6 separate regions of the Homo sapiens genome follow, and all the other regions are linked to region 6. The links are contacts of gene promoters, found by promoter capture Hi-C in blood cells and fetal thymus (Javierre and others, 2016). All regions are on one chromosome and are shown on one strand. Each heading gives the region's core, a stretch centred on a gene start or on the middle of the fragment in contact. The rest is flanking DNA. Distances are from core to core; before and after follow the strand shown.

The links. Contacts are between HindIII fragments. The CHiCAGO score rates a contact against its expected background, and 5 or more counts as called.
Region 1: a fragment that was not itself captured here is called in contact with the fragment with the promoter of DTHD1 in region 6 in 1 of 17 cell types (non-activated CD4 T cells); the score reaches 5.8 in non-activated CD4 T cells.
Region 2: a fragment that was not itself captured here is called in contact with the fragment with the promoter of DTHD1 in region 6 in 1 of 17 cell types (non-activated CD4 T cells); the score reaches 6.1 in non-activated CD4 T cells.
Region 3: a fragment that was not itself captured here is called in contact with the fragment with the promoter of DTHD1 in region 6 in 4 of 17 cell types (activated CD4 T cells, total CD4 T cells, total CD8 T cells and 1 more); the score reaches 7.1 in activated CD4 T cells.
Region 4: a contact is called between a fragment that was not itself captured here and the fragment with the promoter of DTHD1 in region 6, in 2 of 17 cell types (naive CD8 T cells and total CD4 T cells). The highest score is 5.4, in naive CD8 T cells.
Region 5: a fragment that was not itself captured here is called in contact with the fragment with the promoter of DTHD1 in region 6 in 3 of 17 cell types (total CD8 T cells, activated CD4 T cells and total CD4 T cells); the score reaches 5.8 in total CD8 T cells.

What each region holds. Positions count from the first base shown.
Region 1 is chr4:36,125,733-36,128,535 of GRCh38, reverse strand. ARAP2 (ArfGAP with RhoGAP domain, ankyrin repeat and PH domain 2) reads left to right here. Exons shown (of 33, transcript NM_015230.4): 21 at 1-3. Among named protein-coding and RNA genes, the nearest start is that of ARAP2, 120 kb to the left of the region's middle. The HindIII fragment of the contact is 496 bases long and covers 1,124-1,619 here.
Region 2 is chr4:36,142,641-36,145,633 of GRCh38, reverse strand. All of the region lies in intron 19 of ARAP2 (ArfGAP with RhoGAP domain, ankyrin repeat and PH domain 2), which reads left to right. Among named protein-coding and RNA genes, the nearest start is that of ARAP2, 100 kb to the left of the region's middle. The HindIII fragment of the contact is 4,528 bases long and covers 1-2,993 here.
Region 3 is chr4:36,105,471-36,108,648 of GRCh38, reverse strand. It overlaps ARAP2 (ArfGAP with RhoGAP domain, ankyrin repeat and PH domain 2), which reads left to right. Exons shown (of 33, transcript NM_015230.4): 27 at 956-1,084. Among named protein-coding and RNA genes, the nearest start is that of ARAP2, 140 kb to the left of the region's middle. The HindIII fragment of the contact is 705 bases long and covers 1,430-2,134 here.
Region 4 is chr4:36,088,708-36,091,710 of GRCh38, reverse strand. The region is part of intron 28 of ARAP2 (ArfGAP with RhoGAP domain, ankyrin repeat and PH domain 2); the gene reads left to right. Among named protein-coding and RNA genes, the nearest start is that of ARAP2, 150 kb to the left of the region's middle. The HindIII fragment of the contact is 8,569 bases long and covers 1-3,003 here.
Region 5 is chr4:36,071,556-36,074,381 of GRCh38, reverse strand. It overlaps ARAP2 (ArfGAP with RhoGAP domain, ankyrin repeat and PH domain 2), which reads left to right. Exons shown (of 33, transcript NM_015230.4): 32 at 559-693. Among named protein-coding and RNA genes, the nearest start is that of ARAP2, 170 kb to the left of the region's middle. The HindIII fragment of the contact is 497 bases long and covers 1,004-1,500 here.
Region 6 is chr4:36,280,356-36,283,270 of GRCh38, reverse strand. It overlaps DTHD1 (death domain containing 1), which reads right to left and starts at 1,655. Exons shown (of 10, transcript NM_001170700.3): 1 at 1,242-1,655. The coding sequence starts at 1,512. The HindIII fragment of the contact is 1,630 bases long and covers 948-2,577 here.

The sequences.
Region 1 (2,803 bases), core at 122-2,621, 150 kb after region 6:
TAGGTAATATTTATACAGATATTTGTAGATATGTGTGTGTGTGTGTGTGTGTGTGTGTATAATATAGACCATAATACATGCTTGCCTTTTAATACTTAGACTTTAAACATCTTTGATAAGCTGAAATTTTAATTGAAAGAAACAATGTACATAATGGCTGATAACAGAAATTATATAAATATCAATAGCTGTTTCTCTCTACCTCAAGAGAAATTCAAAATATTCACTAAATCGTTTGGTATATACTTAGTTTTCAATGGATTTCTTAGTGCATACTTTGCTTCAACTTTGGAATGTTACAGTCAAGTCCATGTGTGCTACTAATTTCTCATTAAAAATAAAATGAAGCATTTACTACAGGATACATTTTGCAAGATTTTCACCCATGACTCTTTTGTGTTTCTTCTATTATGTGTTCTACATCTTTAGTGTATATAACAATTTTTTTAACTTTTGCTTCATTTATTCTAGATTCCATCTAATGAAATAGAGTTTTGTTATACACTGTAAGAAAAGCTAATTAAGAGATGACCCTAGAAAAGGAGTTTATTAAATCCCTCATGGGTCAAATTAATTTTAGTAAAACGTGTTTTTAACCTCCGATGATTTAAAACAAGTCCTTTTATTGAAACATTACAATAACAAAGACTTAAATATAAGCATTGCCTTTCATTCCACCTTTTTACTGAAGCTACTTTTATTTTTCCATATTATAGTCCTTTTCTTCACTTTTATAATTTATGTATATGACATTTTTATTTTTATTAATAAATCATAAGCATTTCTCATATATCTATAATATTTTCCAAATGATAATTTTTATTTCTCTCTTGTTCTAGGTTTTAAAACTTACTTTTGAATTATTCCATAATTATAATGTGTTTGTCTCATATATTTAATCTCTTTCAAGATTTGGAAAATGGCTTTTGAATCTAGTCACATGGCATTCCTCTATTGAGAAGTAATTTTCCTCATTGAAAGTATTTGTTTAATCTAAAACAAGTGATATATTTAAAGAGATTAATTTTCAAATGATGTCACAAAACATGCACAGTTTGAAAATTATCCCAAGAATGACCCTAGTTAGTGTCAGCAAAAGTAGTATTATAATGAAAATAAAGCTTCTCACGATATAACTACCTTTCAGAAGTCTTTCATTTGCCTTCTAATGTTTCTCAAATCAGTAGGGTTCACTGTAATCACAAGAAGAATTAAGTGTATAATTTTCTAAGATATAAAACACAGAGCTAAATACATTGCTTTAAGCTCAGTTACCTTGCACCCCTCATTTTTGTTTTAAGAAATTGTATTGAAATGTATGAAGCTGTTTAGAGTATCTCTACTTTATAGACTTATAATTTGTCTTTATTATAAAATTGGTTATCAGTAGTACATGGCAAGACTGGGCACAGTGGCTCACGCCTATAATCCCAGCATTTTGGGAGGCCAAGGCAGGAGGATAGCTTGAGGCCGGGAGTTTGAGACCAGCCTGGGCAATATAGTGAGACCTTGTCTCCACAAAAAATAGAAGTGTTAGCTCAGGCATGATGTGCTCCTGTAGGCTCAGCTATTCTGAAGACTGAGGTGGGAGGATCACATGAGCCCAGGAATTCCAAGCTTCAGTGAGTTGTGATGGTGCCACTGTACTCCAGCCTGGGTGACAGGGCTGAGACCCTGCGTGTTAAACAACAACAACAACAGCGACAAATATATATTTGCTAAAGTTGTCAAATTGAGTGACAAACAAGTCTTCACTGTTGTCAGTCTACCAGAACAAGGTAGTCAGCAGGGGTAGGAGTGTTCACCTTTCACTTGCATGTGAGTTCTTGGAGAATTTATTTGGAGAAGGCTTTGAATACTGGGTCAAGTAACCTTTAACTCCTTTGCTTTTGCCAACAGTATAGTTTAGCTGGACCCTTCAAAAGTGGCCATGTTGGGCCTGAAAAGAATAAACTAGTACTGTCTAAGTGAATTCATAAAACTCTTTTGATGTACTGTATACCTGAGGTAGAGAATGCCTTATAGCCGTGTACCACCTATATTTATATGACATATGATCTGTTCTTCTAGGAGGACTGTTAACTTATATGTTTCGTTGAATTGCTCATTGTATTTTCTATATGGCCTGAAATCATTCCTGAGTTTTACTTTCAATTTATTTAGCTTTATTTTGAAAATATCATCTATTTTATAAGATTTGTGGAAATATGCATACTAGCATGACTTTTTGTTTTAAGCGTAGTAGTGTTAAATTTTAAGGAATAAATGCAATTTCTCCTACAGTTAGAAACTGGATAACGCGAGGATAAATGTTTGCATTATACTGGGAATTATACATAATTAATTTCCAGTAATGTCTTTGAATGTAATTTGGGTGTTTCCCCCTCTTTCTTATAGAGAGTCATCTACTAGTGCACTTAATTCAGTATACTCATGTGTATGGCTATTGCTTTCAGGTACAGGCTAAATCAGTACAAAAGAGATATCACTTGCAATTTTGAATAGGTGTGCACTTGAAAACTGTGTCATACAGAGTTTCTTACCTAGCCAGGGATCCTAATGTCCTTTACAAGTGACTTTGTACTTTTAAGACATCATTAGCGTGCTGCTGATTTTCTGTGAATAGAAGAGGTAAGGCTAAGCAAGAAATAAAATCGTCTTGTTTCCAAAGATAGTTGCGAATTGAGAGGAAATAATAAGTGTGGTCTCCTTGAGTTACCAAGTCAGCACAAGTGATTTATTTAAAGAATGATCTATTTCCACTTCAGGTAGCATAGGCTAAACTGTCACTGCATGCTCTCTA
Region 2 (2,993 bases), core at 362-2,861, 140 kb after region 6:
ATATTGTGTAGTGCTAGGGTTTGGGATTCTATTGAGCCCATCACCCAAATAGTGACCGTAGCACCCAATAGGTAGTTTTTCAGCCCTTGCCCCCTTTGGTCCCCACTTTTGGAGTCCTCAGTGTCTATTATTTCCATCTCTATTTCCATGTAACTCATTGTTTAACTCCCACTTATAAGTGAGTACATGCAGTATTTGATTTTCTGTTTCTGTGTTAATTCACTTAGGATAAGGACCTTCAGCTGCATCCATGTTGCTGCAAAGGACTTGACTTCATTCCTATTTATGGTTGTGTAGTATTCCATGGTATATATGACGACATTTTCCTTAGCCCGTCAACCACTGATCGGCACTTGAGTTGATTCCACGTCTTTACTCTTGTGAATAGTGCTGTGATAAACATATGAGTTCAGGTGTCTTTTTGGTAGAACCATTTTTTTTTCCTTTGGATAGATACCTAGTAGTGGGATTGCTGGATCAAATGGTAGTTCTATTTTTAGTTCTTTGGGAAATCTTCAAACTGCCTTTCTTCTTCAACAAATTGGTTTTTTTCCCCTTGGCTTCTTGTAATTTGCTTAAAAAAACTCTTAATTACACTGGTTCAGTATGGTTTGCTGTATAATAGTGCAAGATTATTTGTATTCTTACAATAAAGTAAGCTAGAGAAAAGAAAATGCTATTAAAATCATAAGGGAAAACATATTTACTATTCATTAAGTGGAAGTAGATCATCATGAAGGTATTCATCTGTGTCGTCTTTATATATGTAGGTTGAGGAGGAGGAGAGGTTGATCATGCTGTCTCAGGGGTGGCAGAGGCAAAAGAAAAATCTGTGTATAAAGGGATCTGTGCAGTTCAATCTTATCTTGTTCAATGTTTAACTGCGATATAAAAATATAGCTAAATAAGCCTTCATTTGATTATTTTTATTGCTGTGACAAGGATAATGACTTTCAGTGGTTATCTGAACCTGCCTTTCCTTCAACTTCATGGGACGACATCAAGAGCTTTATACAGCGAGCATATTGCTGATTAGATATTTATGTCAGATTGTGTTTTTTAGCTTCTAGGCGTAATTAGGACTTTGCATTTTTACTTATTTCTTAGATTATTATGGTTAATGATACTTTAGATTCTTATTTTTGTTACTAGATGATGATTTCACTATACCGTGAGAGTATTGTTAATTTTATGTCCAGAAATAATGAGGAATTATTAGGTATAGATAGGATTTGACATTAAAATACTAGCATAAATGCAGTTTTACAATCATTTATTAATATTTATGGAATGCCTACTAACTGCTACTTCCATGGCAGGAAAATAAAAAAGGTAAACAATTCAAACTTGGTGTCTGACCCCTCAGAGCTTATGTTCTTAAACAAATAGACAAGTATCAGCTTAACAAATGTGTTTATCCTTTTCATTTTTTCAGGTTATTATAACCAACGTATTTTTGTACCCTTTTTTTTAACCTATGGAGTATTTGGCCAATGATACATAGGTTTTAATTAAAATGTAGCAAACATGGATTAGAATGATTCAGTTTAATGTAATTCTATTTAGTGCTTACTGCATGCAGTCCAGCCCCTCATATATGGAAGATATGGAAGCCAGAGCACTAAATGTTTTATTATTTTGTACATTTTGATCTTACCGCTGGACTGCAGAAATCAGGAGATGAAATTCATTTGTAATATTATTTTTGAGTTCATGGAAAAGTAGAAAACTAATGAAATTCCAAAATAATGGTCACAGACAGTTAATAACATTTTTGGTAATTGAAAGTTTTCGTCTACATGTGTTACTAACAAGTTATGTTCAAAGTATTTTTATGAAAGTGAAGAGTAATAATAGGAGTGGGAGAAATGTGAGGATAAATATAACCAAGTTACTTTCTGTAAATCTCTTCGTATAGCTAATGTACCATCCCCACCATTTAAACGCAATTATATTATCACATGCTTCTGTCTTTGGTTTACTTGCTTTTCCTTTTTACTCCAAATCAATAATCATCTGATAATAACAATGATGACAATGGGGGCAGTTACCATGTGCCAAGCCCCATTTTAAGTACTTAAACAGCCTTCTTTTGCCTATATGGTATTGAGGAAAATAATTCATTTTGAAGTTAAAGTAAGGTCAATTTGTAACTTAAATTTTTTTTTAAAAATCAAGTGTTCAGTATTAATTTACCAATACCTTTGTAGAGATCTTTCTCAGGATATAAAGCAACAAGTGTTCTAGGAGTCTGGATAGACACTATAAGTTACTAGAATTCAAAATTGAAGCATTTATTAGAAAAATAAAAATGTTTACTAGAAAACATTTTTATAAAATTATTAGAAAACGTGTCCATAGAATTCCTACCTAATTGAAAATGGAGTAGAGAGAAGGGAGGTCCACCGTGTGCATAAAAGTAAAGAATCTGCACAATAGATGCCAAGAATGTGAGGTTATGAACCCTGATAGAACAAGAACAAAGACTATACATACGTGACAGGCACAGCACCCTGTATGGTGCAAAACAGAGTCTCATATCTACTTATTTACATAGACACATAAACATATGTTTGTGTATTCTGTGACTACATAGACATCATATAGGAAATAGTGGAAAAAGGAGCAGGTTTGGGAGAGAGCCTGGGAGATAATGAGTTTAAGACATGTTGAGCATGAGATTCTTATAAGAAATCTAAGAATAAATTGATGGGAGAAAGTTATTTTTTATGGATAAGATATTCATGAAAAGATTAACAGATTGGAGATACAGATTTTGGAGTTGCCAGCGTAAAGAAGGAAGAAAGTGAAATTACTTAGGGTGATTCTGTGGAAATAAAAAGGAAGAAGTCCTGTGTTGGAGCTTTGATGACTATACATCATTTTGGGTTAGGGGAATTTGTCAGGGAGAAGTAGCTGCTTGTTTCCTCAGAGAGTGAGGCCAGAAACTAAGAGAGAGTACAAAGTGTTACAAAGCCCAGGAAGAGGGTGTC
Region 3 (3,178 bases), core at 533-3,032, 170 kb after region 6:
AAATTATGATTGCCTAAATCAAAATGTGTATGGATGAATATTCTTCAGAGAGATATATTGAAGATGTCATGTAATTTCTTGCTAGTTGGCCTATTATGTCAATAGTTAGTCTATAATATTGACACATCATGTTTTTTATATTCCCACTAGTAGTTAAATATAGACTCTTCAGTACTATTTTGTAAATGATTTTAGTGTTTTCTATAGAAGTTACATTTTATAATTTTGTATTGATTATGAAAATATTAGCTATGAGGTATTTACTAGTGTTGATCCAAAATTATGAGTTTGATCTTGTTGGGATAAACAAAGGATTATGATTAATTTATGATTATTATTTAGTAACGGACAATATTAAGTTTGTTAGTCCTTTTAAAACCATTTAATTGCATATAAAAATAAGAAGGTTTCCCTAAACAAACCAGTATGTTATCTACAAAAGAGGTTAGAGGATGGGGATGGTGGTTCATGCCTGTTCATCCCACCACTTTGGGAGGCAGTGGTGGGAGGGTAGCCTGAGCTCAGAAGTTTGAGGCTACAGTGAGCTAGGATTGCATCACTGCACTCCAGCCTAGGTGACAGGGTGAAACCCTGTCTCAAAATAATAATAATAATAATAATGTATTGTACAAGGGGTAGAATTTATTATACAAAAGGTAGAATTCTGAGATTTTTATCAAAAGTACTTCTGATTTTTAAAAATAGTTCAGTAACAGGTATTCCTGCATGATTAATTTATATAGTAAATGTTATTATGTGCTTAATAATTTTCTAGGTCTTAGGATATCTTTTACATAGTCATAGTGCTATTACTGTATAATATAACATAAGATATGATTGTGTATAATGTTGCCTACAGATGTTTTCAAATGGATTTTTTAAAATTTATGATTATAAAATAAAAAATTGTTATCCTCATATATTTTCCATTTGATTTGGAATTTATTTTTTACAGAGCGTCCTCTTCACTACAAGGAAAATGTACTGGAGCAGGTGCTTCGGTGGAGTTCATTAGCTGAACCTGGCTCTGCTTACCTGGTGGTGAAGAGATTCTTAACCGCTGACACAATTAAACACTGCAGTGGTAGGTGTCATTACTTCACATTGCAGCTATGATTGAAAATTCAAGTGGTTAAAGGGTAATTAATATGGCACAAGTAATATTTGAAAATGTGAAAAACGAGTAGCTAGATACAGAATGAACTGAGATAGTACATATATAAGAAAGAAGAATATATGGACAGGAAGATATTTTCCCAATGTGTTGCTCTGTGGTAATAGTTGGCTAATTTGATTGTACCAAGTTCAGGTTTTTGGAAATAATAGTTTGTTTTTAAAGGTTGTTTACCATGCTTATGCTTATGTATTTTCCTCAATTTTTAGACTGAGGGCAAGTCATCTCTGTGAATTACATTTACATTAGAAAGCTTTCTAGGCATTAAAGGAATGCTAATTATATAGGCTCTGAGATAGAGTGCTTGCTATATATCTCACATTTTTGTGATGAAGTTGGAAAATAAATACTTACAAAATAAAATACTTCCAGTAAGAATGCTTCCCATCCAACTGGAAGGAGATAGTGCTCATGTACGGTTAATTAAGTAAGTTAGCTAGCACAGTGAACTATATAAGACCATTTCTGAACCTCTATGAGATCTCAGAAAATTTTTATTTTGAAACTTAATTATTCTTCTGTTGTGTTGTTATCAACTGAAAGATCAAAAAAAAGCCAGGATTATATACAATCCAACTCAATAAGCTAAGGATTGAAATTTATGATTACTTTTATGATTAATATAAATAATAACCATTATTATTTCTTAATTGCATACCAGCAGAGCTCAACACACACCAAAGCTCATTTAAAGTTTTTTTTAACTTCCTTGTAAGTTATATTACCTTTTGAATTTTACAAATGAAGGGAAGAGAAACTCAGAGAACTTAAGTAATTTGCCTTATATTATTCAGTTACTAAGTATTGAATTGAAGAACTGATTGGTGTTCCTCCTAATTTTAATCATGTGAAAAAAGGTGGGGAGGATGGTACAGCTCTTCAGTGCTGTAAACTACTCAGTATCATTGCAGATTCTCTAGTTAATAGTCATAATTCAGAGCTCTTAATTGTACCAAAGCTTATCATATAAACTTCTGATTTAATACACTGTCTTTTATATCTTACATACTTTTACTTACGTGAAAGTACTTTTACAAAATGCAAGTAGTATAACAACTTTTATGTCATTGTGTTCTTATAAGCATCTAAAAAGCCAAAACAGATACTAACTCTTTATACTGTAGAAATGTAGCCTTTCCGAGACCTTTATCCTGTTTGAAATTTTTTCATGCTCTTACATATGATTCTGACCATATACTGCCTGTGCCTTCTTAATGTTTGCAATAGGATTTCTCTGTACTGATGTGAATGCACATGTATGAATGCACATGTCATAAAGTAGTGGCTTTCAGCTAGGAATGATTTCCCCTCCCTCCCCTCCCCGCCCACAAGACATGGAACATACAATGTCTTAAGACATTTCTGACTGTCACAACTTGGAGATTGGGTAGGGAGGCAGGGCTTCTGGTATTTAGTGGGTACAGACCAAGGGTCACTGCTGATGTTGAGAAACCCTAATTTAGATAATCTGTGATATCTGTTCTAATTCTTTATCTTTCTGTTGAAATTTTTATTTGTTTCTTTTCTTCTGATATTCCTCTGCAATATCTCTAATTCTCCATGTTGCAACATGTTTAAAACCTACACCTAGACATAATACCTTTGCTGTTGTGTGAATGCTAGTAGGTTGGCTATATGAATAAAAATGGATAAGAATTAGATCCTAAAAGGCTATGTTATAAGTGAAGGTTCTGTATGTCTGAGGGTGCGGGTAACCCAAAACAAGTTCACCATTAAATGCTATTAATCTTCGGGGCATGGCTGGGGGTGGGTGGCAAACAACCCAACAAGGTGTAGATTGCGCTGGTTTAGAGCAGTCATATCTGGGTAAAACCTTTGTTGTGTAAGGGCAAGAAGAAATGGTACAGTGACAGCTGGTACGTTGGCTGTAACCACAAACTGGGTAGGAAGATTTGGTGTTTTCGTGATGTTCCACCTATCCCATTACATCTTCTAGATGGAGTTATGAGTGTGTCCTTCTGTTATAAAAGCATCAAGCCTCTG
Region 4 (3,003 bases), core at 341-2,840, 190 kb after region 6:
ACAGTGAATAATTTTATAAGGCCTTTTTAGGCACCTCAGATTTTGAGGGGCAGTAAATGACTTAAGCCCTGAAGAAAAGTCTAATATGTATTATAAATCAACATCTCAGTCAATAAAATTAATAGAGAATGTGTGATACCCTAAAATAAAAGGCTTCAGATTAGCTACTGGAAATTAATAAAAGGTGCAATAAAATGACCAAACCCAAAAGTTAAAATAAATCTTATTAGTATCTTTCCTATATGGTTGAATGAATTGACTTATTTTTAATTTCATATGTATTAATGTAATCTTATTGATATATTCCGTCTAATTTATTTCCCTAAAAGATCTTATTAAATAATTGTGGAGTGGATAAGAGAATTAGAGATATAAAAGAGGGAGTAGATAAATGATGTAGCTATAAAAATATTGAACTTAACATCAGAAAATCTCATCTCTGTGAAGAGCTGGTTACATGAATAAGTAACTTAACCTCTCAACCTCAGTATCCAAATCTGTAATTTAAGATAGTATGAGTTCTGCATGTCAGGTTGTTTTAATGCTTAAAAAATAATATATGATTTTTTTTATATTCTCTGGGTGCAGGTTACACCAGTATGTTCACTTTATTAAAATTCACGGAGCTAATATGTATGATTTGTGTACTTTTTATATGTGTATTATATATACACTGCAATTTTTAAAAAGCATTAGGATAAAAAAAGTAAAACAAATGTGCACAGGCCCCACCTCCAGGGATTTGGTTTTTATAAGACTGCGACAGGTTAACAGCATTTTTCTTTAATTTGTTGAAATTTTTTTTTGGTTTTTAAGTTCAGGAGTGCAAGTGAAAATTTGTTAGATAGGTAAACTTGAGTCATGGGGATTGGTTTTACACATTATTTCATCACTTAGGTATTAAGCCTAGTGCTTATTAGTTGTTTTTTCTAATCCTCTACGCTCCACCAACCAAAAGGCCCCAGTGGGTGTTGTTCCCCTCTATGTGTCCATGTGTTCTCATCATTTAGCTCCCACTTGTAAGTAAGAACATGCGTTATTTGTTTTTCTATTCCATGCTAGTTTGCCAACGATAATGGCCTCCAGTTCTATCCATGTTCTTGCAAAGGACATGATCTCATTCTTTTTTATGGATGCATACTGTTCCATGATCGTGGTGGATAAGCCTTTTGGTGTGCTGGTGAATTCAATTTGCCACTATTTTGTTGAGGATTTTTGCACTGATGTTTCATCAAGGATATTGGACTGAGGTTTTCTTTTTTGTTGTATCTCTGTCAGGTTTTGGTATCAGGATGATGCTGACTTCATAGAATGAGTTAGGAAGGAGTCCCTCCTCAATTTTTTGGAATAGTTTCAGTAGGAATGGTACCAGATCTTATTTGTACATGTGGTAGAATTCAGCTGTGAATCCCTCCGATTCCTGGGATTTTTGTGGTTGGTAGGCTTTTTATTACTGCTTCAATTTCAGAACTGGTTATTGGTCTGTTCGGGGATTCAGTTTCTTCCTGGTTTAGTCTGGGAGGCTGTATGTGTCCAGGAATATACCCATTTCTTCTAGTTTTTCTAGTTTATATGCATAGAGGTATTCATAATATTCTTTGATACTTGTTTATATTTCTATGGGGTCAGTAGTAATATCCCCCTTATTGTTTCTGATTGTGTTTATCAAATATTCTCTCTTCTTTATTAGTCAAGCTAGTGGTCTAATAATATATGTAAAAATTCTTTTTATAAATATAATGTAATAATAATAGCATGCTCATCCAAAGATACCACTAAGAATATGAATAGGCAAGTCCCAGATTGAGAAAAATGTATTAATAGGTGTACTAATAGTCCCAGATTGAGAAAATGTGTTAATTAACATATATCAGAAAAAGACTTATATCAGGAGTATAAAGAGCTCTTCTAAATCAACAATAAGAAAAGCAGTTCAATAAAAATTATGGCAAGGATAGAACAGACATTACATGAAGGAAGATGTAGAAATGTCCAATAACCCATTGATTCAAAAGTGTTCAATATCATTAATAATCGGGAAATTAAAACTAGAACCACAAGACACTATTTTACACTCATTGGTATGACTAAAATCTTAACAGTGATAACACCCAATGTTAAAAAATGATGTAGAGTAATTAGAACTCCCACATAAATTGTTGGTGGAAGGGTAAAATCACACAATCACTCTGTAAAACTGTTTGTCAGTTTTTAAATGAAGTTACTAACATAATCTACCCCATGATCCAGTGGCTCTACTCAAGCAGTACAACTACTTGTACTCACTTGTACAAGAATGTTCATAAGCAGATTTATTCATAAAAGCTGATAACTGGAAGCATTCCAAATGTCCACCAATAGGAAAATATTCTATTCATATAATGGAATACTACTCAGCAACAAAAATGAATATTAAAACAAGCCACAGCATTGGTGAGTTTTTAAAACCTTTGAAACCAAAGAAACTTGACACAAAATAGTATCATATAAGTCTGTGCATAAGAAGTCTAAGAACAGGCAGAACCATTCTATGGTGATAGAAGTCAGAAAGTGTTTGCTTAGGTTGGGGACAGAGTTTGCTGCAGAATTGCCAAGGAAAAGGGTCAGTGGGGTACTTTCTAGATAGAAATGTTCTTTCTCCTGTTTTGGATGGTGGTCACATGGGGGTATGCAGCAACAACTCTCTGAGATTCAAGTAGTACCAAGGCAATTACTTTAAATGTAGAATGGAAGTCAGCAGGACCTGGAAAATACTTTTTAAATATTGAATTATAAAATTCACTTGGGTAAACATTGCTTGCACACTTATAAGTGAATGATGCTTCACTGTGTTCTGTTGTGGAGATGCACAAAGAAAGACCAGACTTTAACATCTGTTAATATGTTACAAAGAAAGAATTGTTAGGCAGCTTTCCAAAGCTGTGGCTGTCTTGTTCTGTGGCTTCTGTTCAGCACTCCGTGTGCTTTAATTACTTTCTCTGTGTATTCCTCCAGCAGGGGAGC
Region 5 (2,826 bases), core at 3-2,502, 210 kb after region 6:
TCCGTTGTACAATGATTTTCAGTAAAGATGTTGAAATGTCTGAGTAAAAAGATTATATTTCTTTGGAATTCAATTAGATAAAATAGTAACATTTTTCAAGAGGTCATAAAGTTAGGCTAATTTTTCTGATAGTCATGCCTTAGGTTGATTTGGGATATATAAGATGAAATTATTTTTACACTGAAATCATATTTGGTGTAAATGTATAGTTACTTAGATTACAGTGCCTAGCAATGTAGACAAGTGTACTATTTTTCTTCCACAAAGAGATTTGCCAGTTGCCTCAAATACTTTTCCCCTTTTGGTTTGATAAGTAGTATAGAAGGCATGTATTTGAAACTTAGAAATTGAGCTGAGACCTCAAAGCTCAGTTCAGTTAAGAGTTTCATGTCCTGGAGCGATGCTGCCACCAGAGTCAACATCATAATCACAAATGGAATTCTCATGGAAATCAGATCATTTGATGTGGATATGTGGGAAAGAAACCAAGTGGCTTTATGACATAGTATACCACATAATAAAATCACACACCAACAGCAAGAAATTGTGTTTCCACAGCATGAATATGATATATGGCCACCAGCTGGAAAGGAACGAAAACGTTCAATAACCAAAAATCCCAAAATTGGAGGTTTGCCTCTGATTCCTATACAGCATGAGGGGAATGCAACCTTGGCCCGGAAAAATATTGAGGTAGGTTAGGATTTTGTTTGTTTTATATTCAATTATAGAATATATTTTCCTGTGTCATAATGTGATTAGGTCATTAATTACTTCATTGGCTTCAAAAGCACAATAATAATCACTTTGTAAAGCATGGTAATAATCACATACAGCAAGAAAACAGTATGAATAACCTTATACCTTTTATTTTAATATCATTGACCACCCAATCACATATGCACAATACTACTTATTTTCTTACCTCTAAAGTAGCCAATTTAAAATATGCGTATAGAAATTCTGGTGGTAAAATCACAACTTCAAATTCGTTTTACAAGCTTACTTAAAACACCTTCAGAGTAAGCCCATAGCAGAATATGTCTGGAGCCCTGGTAACTAAACTTTCTAGTAATATAATCACATTCCAGTGCTTTGGGAACTGATGGGGTCTCTCAGTTAATTTAAGGACCTACAAGATGACCCCTGAGAATCAAGAAAGAAGATTTGGCATCTTTCATGAAAGCTACTGTTTGTTTTCCTTCTCACCTTGAGGGTTGGGAGATCATAAGCGGCATCAATCTTGACATGAAGTTTGGCCTCTTCAGCAAAGAACATAGGCTGTTTACTCTCAAAACTCATTAGCCATTTTGGGACCAACACATATTTCAGTGTCTTAATTGAGTCTCTGAAAGCAAAAAGAAAAGCAGTTAGAAGGTGTTCTTATATCTTCCTTGAGCCTAAATTTGGAATTAAGCTGTTCAAATCTTTTGCTCTCCAAACAGAAATAACTTTTGAAAGACGAAAGCCATTTTAACCTAGTGATCAGATTTTTAAGCTTTTTGTGCATATCCTTTCTTGAACATTTATCCCACTGTAATATTCCTTCTCTAAAAGAGAAAAGCTTCAAAAATAATGGTCCTTTGTTTACTGCTTAGTCATTCTGCCCTGATGTAATCAAAGTAAGGAATATGTCTCCAAGAAATCATGACCTTGTCATTTCTTCCATTCTGTACCTAGTTTTTTTTTTTGTTTTTTTTGGGGTTTTTTTTTTGTTTTTTTTTAGGTAATAAACCGCTCTGCAGAGTTCCTTATCTAATCAAGTATCTTAAAATTCTAAGAGTTACATTTCCCAGGAACCCAGGACAGGGAACACAGGCTGAACAGATGAAACTAACATAGGGAGAGATACGCCCTACAGTGACTGTAGAACCTTTTGACATTGCCTTCAGATCAATTATCGGCAAAGCAAAATAAATTATTGGGATCAAAATACATTAACCAGTATCTAATATAGATGATGATTGACTGTATAATAATTTCTTAGCCTTATCCCAAATCCACAATTTCAGAGACAATTTTTAACATATTTAAGATAGGAAAACTGAAGAACTGAAACTATAAAGTGTTTACAAGCTTTTAAAAGAATTACATGCATTTTCAATTACTGGAAAATTTCTGAGTCTTTAAAATAAACCAAGCTCTTTGTAAGATTAGTAAATATAAGGTAGTTTGGTGATTTGATAAATTTGGCAAAGACATTTTTTAAATGTTTAATTTTGGAAAAACATAATGAAACTTACTTTATAAGGCAATAATAGAAATTTTTTTAAAAAAATTCATATAAACCATGAAAATATCTGCCATAATATTAGATTCATATAAAAATTTTAAAAAATATATTTACAAAATAACTAACCATTTTTGACCCTTTGTTTTAAAAATGAAAAGTGAGTTAAAATATTAAGTATTTCAAGAACAAAAAACCAAACACCGCATATTCTCACTCATAGGTGGGAATTGAACAATGAGATCACATGGACACAGGAAGGGGAATATCACACTCTGGGGACTGTGTTGGGGTGGGGGGAGCGGGGAGGGATAGCATTGGGAGATATACCTAATGCTAGATGACGAGTTAGTGGGTGCAGCGCACCAGCATGGCACATGTATACATATGTAACTAACCTGCACAATGTGCACATGTACCCTAAAACTTAAAGTATAATAAAAAAAAAAGAAAAAAAATTAAAAAAAAACTCAAAAAAAAATTAAGTATTATATATTAATAAAAATCAGTCATAACAATGAATATATTCAAGAAGAATTATTTTTCAAAGAAGTTGTTGGCAGATTGATAAATTTTGTGGCTAAGCCTGGCTTTCA
Region 6 (2,915 bases), core at 406-2,905:
CAAATCTTATATAATCTCTCACTCCGTCATCATTCTTCCCACTCTCCTATTTGTTCATCCTGCTTCTCCTCACTACTGAGGTCACCTGATGACTTCTTGCAGGCTTAGTACCTCTCTAGTCTTTAGAATTCAGTTCTGAACTAAAGAATAGGTAATTTAAGGCCCCATAGCTTAGTGTTTTTAAAGCCATCACCAAATCATCCCTTCACCAGTCAGGGCTTTTCTTTGGGATCCAGTTCTGACAACTTGTGTTTTGTTTTGTTTTGTTTTTGTCTTATACCTGAGAACTTGTCTTTATTTTTAACTCCTATTCTGGTAACCAAGTCCTTGTTTTTTTCTGAATATATATTTGCTTGTTATATTGCCAAAGACCATGTTCCACTCCCTCCAGAGGCTAAAGGTCTCATTGTGGGCTGCAGCTGATGGCTTCTCAGTCATGCTGCCTTTAGACAGATTTCCCTGATGCCCACTATTTGCCCTTTAGATTGAATTTCTTAACATCATCTACCCTGGATTTCCTCATAGATGGAACCTGCCCACTTATCTTGATACTGTATTATTTAGAGTTGAATTTCATGATGCCACCTATATGCTTATCTGGAGTAACTGTTGTTATCTAGGATTATATTCATCAGATTCCACATTCTTCCTGCCTTACTGTACTTTTCCACATCCATAACTGGACCTATTCCCAAGAATCCCTCTCCAGCCCCAGTGCATGGGGATCCAATTCCCTATCCCAACCCACTCCAGTCTTCCCAGTAATTTTGCAATCAATAAGGCTAAGCTCAAATGACCCTAGAGATAGAATACTATATTCTGATATAAAAAACAAACTACTAGCTCTGCCTCAGTGGCCTGTATTTTCCTGTCTCTAAGTCTTGGATCCTACTAAAATTACCGACTCTCTCTTTCCTGCTGCATAAATCCAATTCACTCTTTAAGCTTCAGCTTAAATACTACATTTTTCTAGCAAACTTCTCAATTCCCCACCCTACAGATGGGATTTAAACTGCTTCTGAAGTCCAAAAGCACTTCATTCATGTGTTTCTAATGGGACTGGCCCCAATGTCCCTGGCATTATTGTGCATTTGTCTCAACTTATTTCCCCTTTGAAATTGTTAGTCTCTTGTGGACAGAAACTCTATCTTAGCCTATCTGGTATACTCATAGCCCCTCTCAGATCTTGCCCTAATCAATATTTCTTAGAGAAAGAATAAACTAAAAAAAAGAATACTTGCCTTTTCTCGAGACACATTGATTCTCTTTGTCAAGCAGCACATGCAGCTGCTGGCAGGTGGAACGCAGGGTGCCTGAGGTGTGCTCCAGCAGCTGGTGAAGGGCACTGCTGAGTTCCTGACCCAGAAAGACCACAGTGGCCATCCAAGTGGCCCCACCAGCCCCCTCACAAAGGTCATCACCCAAGAGTGCCTGCTTTAGCATCTGGTTTTGTCTCCAAATCTGCTTCAATATTTGGCCCAGTTTACCTGAGCCCATGTATTCCATATCCATTTTATGATCCAAAAGTGGTATTTTCTCTCCTGCCAGCAAAGCCTAAAGGTTTTGCAAATTCAAACTTTGTGATTGTTATTTCTCCTAAACTCTAGGAGATGATCCGAGTCAGCTAGCCCAGCACTTTCTCACAACATAGTGGTTATTCAGTTTGGTGTTGACTAGTGAAAAGTTACTAGGTGACCGAAGAAGGGGCGTTCCTGTACCATGGGTGCTACTGTGTACAGAATACATTAATCACTGGGGTAGAGCTGACTCACATGATCCAACTCTCTGTGTAAGTTTTACAAATTCAATATACTGTGGAAGTACCAAATACTTTTCAAGTTTTGAGGCAACAAAATACAGATTCCAGGTAGGGTAAGAAGTTTATTAATCAAAGGTAAACTGTATGAACAATATTGCTGGCAGGATTCCTGTAAACTTAAAAATATTTATGAATGAAATAATGTGATGTCTGATTTTGCTTCTAAATAATCAGGGAGCATAGGGGTGGGTAGAGGTATAAAATTTGCTGTAAGAATTAATAAATGTTGAAGCTGGATATGTTTACACATGGGGTCTTGACAATTCACTCTAATTAATGTGTATATGTATAGTATTTTTATAACCAAGAGTTTAAAAAGATTCCTCTACTGGAGCAGAGCCTATTGCATTGGTTAGGAAGTTATAATTAGCATCTTCTTATGTGGTAAATCTGCAGAGACTGAGATAAGAACTTGGCCTCTGATAATTTCCCTCTAATTGGATAAAATGCCCCTTCACTGAAAGAAAGTAAACCTGAAGAGTAGCTTTCTCTAAACTAGCAAGGATTCTTTACCATATGTAATTAAAATTCAGATACAACAAGCTCTCCCCACTGCTGCCCATCTGCCTGCCAGCGCATCATATATGGGGCTATGCAATGCAGCACTTGCGGGTATTTGGAGGAAACCAGAACAGTCTGCCTCCCTCTCTCCAATCCCACTGCTCAGAGAGAACACACACCTAAGCCAAAGGAAGAGGGCAGCAAGTACATTCCAGAGAGGCTCATGTTCCCTCGGGTACTGGAACAAAATGAAAGCTTTTCAAGTGGAAGCCGGAGTGCTTCCCTCCCACAGGCAACACATTATCTCATCTTAAGCCCTGGAGTTCTAAGAGCTACACTCAGGGCACCTGGAAGACAAGATGGGAAAAACAAGCCCAGAGAATAAATAATGAAGAATGACTGCCACTGCCCTAAAGACTGTCAAAGACCCTGAAGGAAAGGAGCAGTATTGAGTACTGGTGGCTGCAGAGTGGAGAGGGGCTCCTTCACCACTAAGTGTCTTATTTTTCAGTTAACTTCTGTTCACTGAAAAGGGGACCTTTTTCGCAGTATGAGTTCATATCACTTCATGGATTGGATCATTTAAATCTTCTCA